Linked DNA regions of Homo sapiens: all the other regions are linked to region 3. The links are contacts of gene promoters, found by promoter capture Hi-C in blood cells and fetal thymus (Javierre and others, 2016). All regions are on one chromosome and are shown on one strand. The core of a region is centred on a gene start or on the middle of the fragment in contact, and the rest is flanking DNA. Distances in the headings are between cores, read along the strand shown. Region 1 overlaps PRODH2 (proline dehydrogenase 2). Region 2 holds the start of LINC01531 (long intergenic non-protein coding RNA 1531). Region 3 holds the start of ATP4A (ATPase H+/K+ transporting subunit alpha).

What was found. Contacts are between HindIII fragments. The CHiCAGO score rates a contact against its expected background, and 5 or more counts as called.
Region 1: a fragment that was not itself captured here is called in contact with the fragment with the promoter of ATP4A in region 3 in 3 of 17 cell types (M2 macrophages, megakaryocytes and M0 macrophages); the score reaches 7.3 in M2 macrophages.
Region 2: a contact is called between the fragment with the promoter of LINC01531 here and the fragment with the promoter of ATP4A in region 3, in 17 of 17 cell types (neutrophils, M1 macrophages, M0 macrophages and 14 more). The highest score is 15.5, in neutrophils.

Annotation. Positions count from the first base shown.
Region 1 is chr19:35,806,309-35,809,343 of GRCh38, forward strand. It overlaps PRODH2 (proline dehydrogenase 2), which reads right to left. Exons shown (of 10, transcript NM_021232.2): 5 at 733-813; 6 at 367-522; 7 at 122-288. Among named protein-coding and RNA genes, the nearest start is that of PRODH2, 5.0 kb to the right of the region's middle. RefSeq lists an enhancer at 625-1,125. The HindIII fragment of the contact is 1,192 bases long and covers 842-2,033 here.
Region 2 is chr19:35,403,948-35,406,863 of GRCh38, forward strand. LINC01531 (long intergenic non-protein coding RNA 1531) reads left to right here and starts at 1,660. Exons shown (of 5, transcript NR_040046.1): 1 at 1,660-1,734; 2 at 2,638-2,916. The HindIII fragment of the contact is 14,783 bases long and covers 1-2,916 here.
Region 3 is chr19:35,562,266-35,565,337 of GRCh38, forward strand. ATP4A (ATPase H+/K+ transporting subunit alpha) reads right to left here and starts at 1,393. Exons shown (of 22, transcript NM_000704.3): 1 at 1,353-1,393; 2 at 1,119-1,262; 3 at 944-1,003; 4 at 170-373. The coding sequence starts at 1,364. RefSeq lists an enhancer at 2,548-3,049. The HindIII fragment of the contact is 9,853 bases long and covers 1-3,072 here.

The sequences.
Region 1 (3,035 bases), core at 188-2,687, 240 kb after region 3:
CCTGCTCTCAAGTGAATCTCTAGCCTCAGCCTCCCAAAGCACTGGGATTACAGGTATGAGCCACTGCACCCAACCACTAGGTGTTATTATTTCCTGCAGAGGCCAGCTGGCCCGGGCCTACCTCTGACTGGTGGCCTCATAGTCAGGCTGAGTGGGGTCTTCCATCCCATGGAGCTGGGCCACCGCTCTCTCCTTGTCCAGATATGCACCTCGTACCAGCTTCACTCCGAAGGCCAGGCCGGCCCTGTGCGCAGCCTCTGCATCCCTCCCCAGCCGCTCGAATGTGTCCTATAGGGCACGCAGGCAGGTTCTGGTAGGTCAGGGTGTGGGGACCCCAGCCTGTACCTCCTGGAACACACTGCACACCTTTAGACAGGCCTGGTAGGTGTTCCACACCCAGGGCCCGCCTTCACCCGGGCTGTTCCAGCGCACAGCCAGGGCAGCCACCAGCAGCGAGAGCGCAGGGTTCAGTGAGGTGTACTCCGCATCCACCAGGAGCCGCACGTGCTGGGCCCGGGCATACTGATGGCGACAGAGACGACGGTCAGGGCCCCGGGTGTCCAGCAGGGGCAGTGGAGCCAGATCCCAGCAGGAGGGGTTACCTGTGCCACCCGATGCAGGCGGCTGAGGGAGGCCCGGAGGTGCTGGTTCCAGCAGGAGGGGTTACCTGTGCCACCCAATGCAGGCGGCAGAGGGAGGCCCGGAGGTGCTGGTTCCAGCAGGAGGGGTTACCTGTGCCACCCGATGCAGGCGGCTGAGGGAGGCCCGGAGGTGCTGGTTCTGCTCAGCATTGAGGCAGGAGACCTGGAGGTTCTAGGGGGCAGCAGGGGAAGTGGGGAAAAGCTTATAAGTTGCTAGAAATCTAAAAATGAGCAATATCAGTTAGGTACTATTTATTGAGGGGGTTATGAGCCTAGAATCAGGGCTCGAATCCAGGCTTCACCACCTACTGTGTGACCTTGGGCAAGTTATGTAACCTTTCTGGGCCTCAGTTTTTGTTTGTTTGTTTTTTGAAACAGAGTCTTGCTCTGTTGCCCAGGCTGGAGTGCAGTGGCATGATCTCAGCTCACTGCAACCTCTGCCTCCTGGGTTCAAGTGATTCTCCTGCTTCAGCCTCCCGAGTAGCTGGGATTACAGGCGCCCGCCACCATGCCCGGCTAATATTTGTACTTTTAGTAGAGACAGGGTTTAACCATGTTGGCCAGGCTGGTCTCGAACTCCTGACCTCAAGTGATCTGCCCACATCGGCCTCCCAAAGTGCTGGGATTACAGGTGTGAGCCACCGTGCTCAGCCCTCCCTGCTACTCTTTGAACACGAGGGCACCTTCCCACCTCCAGCCCTTTACCTGCTCCCATGTTTCCTTCAAGTATTTGCTCTAATGTCACTTTCTCAACATGGTTTTCCCACCTATACATTGGCAACTTCTTTTCCTCTTCCTCAGCCTTATTTTCCCTTACTTGTTACGTACTGACTTTTGTTTTGCTGAGACGGGGTCTTGCTGTGTTGCCCAGGCTGGAATGCAGTGGCACGATCATGGCTCACTGCAGCCTCCACCTCCCCAGCTCAAGCAATCCTCCTGCTTCAGCCTTCCAAGTACCTAGTACCACAGGCACCCACCACCATGCCGGGCTAATTCTTTACTATTTGTAGAGTCAAGGTCTTCCTATGTTGCCCAGGCTGGTCTCAGTCTCCTGGACTCAAGCGATCCTCCCACCTCAGCCTTCCAAAGTGCTGGGATTCTGACTTTGGTTTTAATTATTGTCTCTTGCCCCTGACTTGCAAGTAAGTGCCTCGAGGTCAGGGATTTTGCCTTCATGCTTCCTCGGCCCCTAGCACCGTGTCTGGAACAAGATAGATGTTCAGCAAACACTTCGGGAGTGGATATGCTTGTAACATGGAAATAAGAACCGTTTCTAACTCACAGTCTTATGCAGATTCATCTGGCTGAATGTGAGCTGCTGGTGACTCCAGGGAGTCTGGCTGGGTTCAAAGAAGTTGGGAAATGGAAGAAAGAGGAACAGGTGGGGCTGAAAGCTTTATTATATCCAACAGGGTCGATACAGATGACATAGGCCTGGGCTTGCTCATGGAATCCCACCTGGAGGCAGGTTGGGCTGGAAGCTGCAACCTTCCGCATGGTGGGGAGAATGCTGCCTCCTGGAGAAGGGAAGACCTGGAGGCAGCAGCCTGGTTTCCTCCTCCCCTGTCAGAGGATTGTCTCCTGCTTGACTTGGGGCGTAGTCTTAGGCCCTCAGGGAGCTATTTCAGACACCCACCAAATATTTAACTCATTTAATATTTACCACTCTCTAATGTACCAACTGTTATTATCCCCCCATTTTCTAGATGGGGAAACTGAGGCACAGAGCAGGGAAGTCACTTGTCAAAAGTCACACAGCTAACTCAGGGCAGACCTGAGGTTTAAACCTCAGCCTTTCCAGAGCCTGGGTCTTTCTCTCTTTTCTCCCTCCCTCCCTCCTTCCCTCCCTTCCTTCCTTCCTTCTTTTTTTTTTTTTTTTGAGATAGATCTCACTCTGTCTCCCAGGCAAGAGTGCAGTGGTGCAAGTTCAAGTGATTCCCCTGCCTCAGCCTCCTGATTAACTGGGGCTACAGGCACGTGCCACCACTTCTGGATAAGTTTTATATTTTTAGTAGAGATGGGGTTTCACCATGTTGCCCAGGCTGGTCTCAAACTCCTGACCTCAAGTGATCCAGCCCCACTTAGCCTCCCAAAGTGCTGGGATTACAGGTGTGAGCTACAGCACCTGGCCCTTTTTTCTTTCTTTCTTTATTTCTTTCTTCCTTCCTTCCTTCCTTCCTTTCCTTCCTTCCTTCCTTCCTCCCTCCCTCTCTTTCTTTCTTCGCTCTCAAACTTGCCAGCTCAAGCAATCCTCCCACCTTAGCCTCCCAAGTAGCCAGGATTACAGGTGCCTGCCACCACACCCAGCTAATTTAAAGGAATTTTTTGTAGAGATGAGGGTTTACTATATTACTCAGGTTGGTATTGACCTCCTGGGCTCAAGCGACCCTCCTG
Region 2 (2,916 bases), core at 410-2,909, 160 kb before region 3:
AAAATTAGCCAGGTGTGGTGGTGAGTGCCTGTAATCCCAGCTACTCAGGAGGCTGAGTCAGGAGAATGGCGTGAACCCAGGAGAATGGAGGTTGCAGTGAGCCGAGATCGCCTCTGCACTCCAGCCTGGGCAACAGAGTGAGACTCTGTCTCAAAAAAAAAAAAAAAAGGAGAATTCAGACTAAGCTGTTTTGCAGCATCCCAAGGCTGTGTTGACCTCACGTACAGCTGCATCATGGGAGTGGGCGGTGCGACATCTCAAGTCCAACTCAACCGAGCCATGGTTCAGGCTAAGTTCCCGCTGGTGCCCCTACCTGGAACGCTCTTCAGATAGTGGCTCCTTCTCACCCATTCAAATGTCCCAGGCCTTTCCTGACAGGCCCTGCCCATCTCTCTCTCTCTCTCTCTCAATTTCCCTGCTTGCTTTTTGTTGTTGTTGTTGTTGTTGTTTGATTTTTGGTCCTTTTTTTTTTTTTTTTTTGAGGCAGAGTCTTCCTCTGTCGCCCAGGCTGGAGTGCAGTGGCATGATCTCGGCTGACTGCAATCTCTGCCTCCCAGGTTAAGGTGATTCTCCTGCCCCAGTCTCCTGAGTAGCTGGGATTACCAGTGCCCGCCACCATACCTGGCTAATTTTTGTATTTTTAGTAGAGACAGAGTTTCACCATGTTGGCCAGGCTGGTCTCAAACTCCTGACCTCAAGTGATGTGCCCGCCTCAGCTTCCCAAAGTGCTGGGGTTACAGGCATGAACCCCACCACGCCTAGCCGATTTATTTTCTTTCCCTTTTTTTTCCCCCAGACAGGACCACTGGATTGGAGTGGTGCCATCATAGTTCATTTTAATTTCCAACTCCTAGGCTCAAGTGATCCTCCCGCCTCAGCCTCCTGAGTATCTAGGACTACAGGTGTGCACCACCATGCCTGGCTAATTTTTTATTTTTATCCTTTTTTGTAGAGACAGGGGATCTCACTATGTTGCCCAGGCTGGTCTCAAACACCCAGCCTTAAGCAATCCTCCTCCTGCCTCAGCCTCCTAAGTAGCTGGGATTATAGGTGTGAGCCACCATGCCTGACTTTTTATCTCACTTTTTGTAGAGACGGGGTATCGCTATGTTGACCAGGCTGGTTTTGAACTCCTGGCCTCAAGCAGTCCTCCTGCCTGGGCCTCCCAAAGCGTTGAGATCACAGACGTGAGCCACCTTGCCTGGCCTACTTCCTTTCTTCCTGTAAAATTGCCTTGTTGGTTTGTCTACTTGTTTTCTGTTCATCCTGTTCACTCTTGTCTCCAGCTCCTAGAACAGTACCTCACACAGAGTAACGGCTCCATGTGTTTTGTGACAGGGAAGCAGACAGTGTGGCTTGTTGGAGAGGAGCCACATACCCCCGCCCCCCGATTCATACATGGTGTGACTCAGCCCGAACCATTGCTCAGTTGAGTTGGATTTGAGATGATGCACTGCCCACTCCCGTGATACAGCTGTGTGTGAGGTCAGCACAGTCTTGGGGTGCTGCCAGACAACTTAGTTTGAATTCTCCCTTTGACTCATTGGAACCTAGACCTCAGCACCAAAGATGTCCCCATACCAGTAACCCGGGCAACAGAATGCAGATAAAGGACAGGAGACAAAAGGCGCAGGTTCTGACACATTCTTTGCTTGTGTCATCAGCTAGCAAGTATTCACAGGCACATCCAACCTCCATCCTTACATTCCACAAGGATTTGAGTGTCTGTTATAGGCAAGGGACAATGCTAGGTTTTTTTTTCTAAAAACAAACTTGGGGCTGGGCATGGTGGCTCACACTTGTAATCCTAGCACTTTGGGAGGCCAAAGCGGGTGGACTGCCTGAGCTCAAGAGTTCGACAACTCTTGGTAACATGGTGAAACCCCGTCTCTGCCAAAAATACAAAAAATTAGCCAGATGCAGTGGCGTGCACCTGTGGCCCAGCTTCTCGGGAGGCTGAGGTGTGAGGATCACTTGAGCCCGAAAGGTGAAGGCTGCAGTGGGCCGCGATTGCACCACTGAACTCTAGCCTGGGCAACAGAGTGGGACCCTGTCTCAAAACAACAACAACAAAATAAGAAAGAAAGAAAGAAAAAGCGGAAGTGAGAGATGGATGTGCGTGTAGTCGTGTGGGATAATTGCCCATGGGAAGGAAACAGAATTCAACCTCTTGGAATGTAGGGGGAGGAGGAAGCCTGAAAAAACTGTTCAAATTTGGATTCTGGGCTGAGCACAGTGGCTCACGCCTGTAATCCCAGCACTTTGGGAGGCAAGGCAGGCGGATCACTTGAGGTTCGGAGTTCGAGACTAGCCTGGCCAACATGGTGAAACCCTGTCTACAAAAAATACAAAAATTAGTCGGGCGTGGTGTTGCACACCTGTAATCCCACTACTTGGAAGGCTGGGGTAGGAGAATCACTTGAACTAGGGAGGCAGAGGTTGCAGTGAGCTGAGATCGCACCACTAAACTCCAGCCTGGGTGATAGAGCAAGACTCTGCCTCAAAAAAAAAAAAATTGGACTCTGGGTGAAATAAGTCTGTTGGGGACAAAATCTGGTGGGAGACCCAGAAGGTCAAGCTGCTTTAGAAAGAGCTCAACCACTGACTTTCCTCTTTTTGACCACATGACTCTTCCAGGTATAAAAGCCTGCCGTTGGTGGAAAAGGAAAAGGTGGTCCAGTTAGACAAGATGCCACCGGCTTCTGAAACCAGACATCTTTGAAAACCCACCCATCTACCTGCAGGAAAAGGCAAGGGACCTGACCTCGCCTGGGCTCAGGGAAGAGGTTGCTGGGATCATAACCCCAGGAAGAGACGGGATGGAAGGAGAGCATGCAGGGAGCAGAGGACAGGCTACTCTCCAAGGAGGAGAGGGAAGAGGCCACAGAAATGGAAAAGGGGCCAGGACAAGTCAGT
Region 3 (3,072 bases), core at 143-2,642:
CCCCATCCATATCCCAATGTCCTTCACCCTCCATGACCCCTGTCTTGAGACTGCCTTTCGTGTTCGTCTATCCCCATCCTTCTCTGCCCCTCTTGTCCCAAGTCCCAGGCTCAGTGTCTTCCATCCCCAGGTCCCCATGTCCTGAGCCTGTCCCCACAACATGGCTCACATTGTCGTCGGTGGTGAGGTCCCCCTCACTAGCCTGGATGGCAAAGGCGATGAGGCAGATGGCGGCGGCAACCCACATGAGGCACTGCAGGCCCCCGGCCAGCTGCCTCGCGAACTTGACGTACTCTGGGGTGCCCCGTGGTGGCCGCAGTGCGTTGGGCCCATCCCGCAGCAGCAGCTCAGCAGCCAGGCTCGCAGAGAGGCCCTGGGACAGAGGGGCAGGGCGAGGCGGTCCTGGGGGCTTTCCTCCACATGCACACCCCGTGGAAAGCCCCCTGCTTCAGTTTCCCTTCTCCAGCTTGGTCTGTCCTGCTCCTTCTCATCTCTTTGTCTCTTGGTTCCTGCCCCCACCCCATCTCTCCCTCCCTCCTTCATCTCTCCCTTTGTCTCTCTCTCCTCGCTCCCCTTTCTATGTGTCTCTCTCCTGCTGCTCTCTCCTTATTTGTCTCTGCCTTCTCTGTCTTGCTGTCTCTTTTCAGCTACTCCTCTCTCCGTCTCTGTGTGTCACCCTTTCTCTCTAATGCTTTCTCCCTTCTCTCCCTCTCCCTCTCTCTCCCTCTCTCCATCTCCCTCCCTCTCTCCTCCCCTCCCTCCATCCTTTCCTCTCTCCCTCCCTCCCTCTTTCCTTTTCTGCCTCCCTCCCTCTCTCTATTTCTCCATATCTTCCTCTCTTCATCTCTCCCTCTCTCTCCCTCTCTCCATCTCCCTCCTTCCATCTCCCTCTCCCTCCCTCTCTCCTCCTCCCCTTTCTGTACGCTCCCAGTCTCCAGCTCACCTTGGTGGCACTGGTCTGGTATTTCTGTTCCAGCTCCGCCACTGACAGCTGGTGGTCGTTCTGTGTGGTGGGGTGGGGCAGGGTGCTTGCTCTGGGCTCTCCTGGCCCCCTCCCCGCCCACTGCCTGGTTCCCAGCCTACCCTCCAGCTCCCGCCCCTCCCCAGTCAGAGCTCACAATCTCCATCTCCTTCTTCATGTTCTCCAGCTTCTCCTTCCTCTTGCCACCCCCGCCACCCGCCTTCTTCTTCTTGCTCATCTTGGCAGCCATGTCCCCGCCAGGGCCAGGACCCAGCTCCACCGAGTAGAGCTCATAGTTCTCCTGGGAATGGACAGGATGGAGGGAGGGAGAACTCAGATTCCACTGCAACCCCTGTCCCCACTGCACCCCGGACCCCTGGGCCCCACTCACGGCCTTCCCCATGGTGCCCGGTGCCTGTGCTCCCACCCAACAGAGCCTGGGCCCGGACCAGTCCTGATATACCCAGGGAGGGCGGTGGGGTGGAGCAGAACCGCCCGACCACAGCTGATTACAGGCTCCTTGGGGTGACCTCTAGGCCTGGGCACCTCAGGCATTCCCTCCTGGGCTGGCCCCCCCCTCCCCTGCCCAGATCCCCCCATGTCAACCTGCCCTGAGATCAGGGAGCCCCTGGGAACCGCTGCAGCAACAAGAAGAGCAAACATAAGGTGCTCATTATGCGCTGGGCATTGTGCTGACGGCTTCCATGTGCTAACTTATTTAACCTTCCAATAACCCTTTGAGGGGACAAGACCCTTTACAGATGGGGAAACTGAGGCATGGAGGGGTTGAGTCATTCTCCTATGGCTCCATCACAGGCTAGGACATAATGGAGTGAGAACCAGATCAGCTGGCTGCAGAGTGTCCTCTTTCAGTCTAAATAGCACGTGCCTGATCAACTGGAAGAGGAGGGTGCTCCCACACTCTTTTTTTTTTTCTTTTTTTTTTTGAGATGGAGTGTCACTCTGACACCCAGGTTGGAGTGCAGTGGTGCAATCTCAGCTCGCTGCAACCTCCGCCTCCCGGGTTCAAGTGATTCTCCTGCCTCAGCCTCTTGAGTAGCTGGGACTACAGGCACATGCCACCACACCCAGCTAATTTTTGTACTTTTAGTAGAGACGGGGTTTCACCAGGTTGGCCAGGCTGGTCTCGAACTCCTGACCTCAGGTGATCCACCCGCCTTGGCCTCCCAAAGTGCTGGGATTACAGGCGTGAGCCACCATGCCCTGCCATGCTTACAACACTCTCTATGGTGGCTGAATGTTTACTGAACTCTGACTATTCACTATGGGCTGGGTGTGCTCTGTGTGTCACTCAAATGGTTTCCTTAGCATCTAACAGCAGCCCTGTAAAGCAATATTCTCTTCTTAGCCCCCATCAGGGACTTTGCAGAAGATTTCAACGTCTAAGAATTAGGGACAGGGTTCCAGCCCGGGCTTGACCCCAGGGCTTGACCCCAGAGCCTAGCTCTTCTATGGCACCACCAATGGAAAAACCCAAACTTCACTGCAGCAGCACCACACACATGCCAGGCTCTGCACGTGTGACCTCACGGGTCTTTGCAAAAAACCCTGTGCAGGCAGAACTATCATTCCTGTTGTGCAGAGGGGGAAACTGAGGCTCACAGGGACTCACATATCCAGCTACAGACTTTACAGCTCTCAACCATTCCCCGTCCCTACCCTAGATGGGGAAACCAAGGTGCAACATGGGGAAAGGATGTGTCCAAGGGTCTTGGCTTGATCTTGGTGTTGGGTGACAGATGCCAGGAGGCCTGGGGACTCCCTCCTCATCCCTCAGGTAGGGACCTCCATGGGCAGCAGCAGCGAGGGGCTGGGCCAGTGGAATGGTGGGGACCTTGGTATGTTATGGGGTGAGCGTGTCTCCAGGAGCAGGTGAGCGTGCGCCTGATAAGATAACTGCCCTGGCAATGTCCTTCTCTACTGGGGCAGGTCACCTGGGAAACTCAAAGCTGTTGGGCAGCCAGAGCTCCTCCCCGCACCCACACGGCTGGTCATCCCCAGCCTGCTAGAAGAAACCTCCAAAGAAGAGGTGGCGTGGGGCCACATGCTGTCCTTGTAGTGAATCTACTCGCTCACTGGGCTCCCATCAG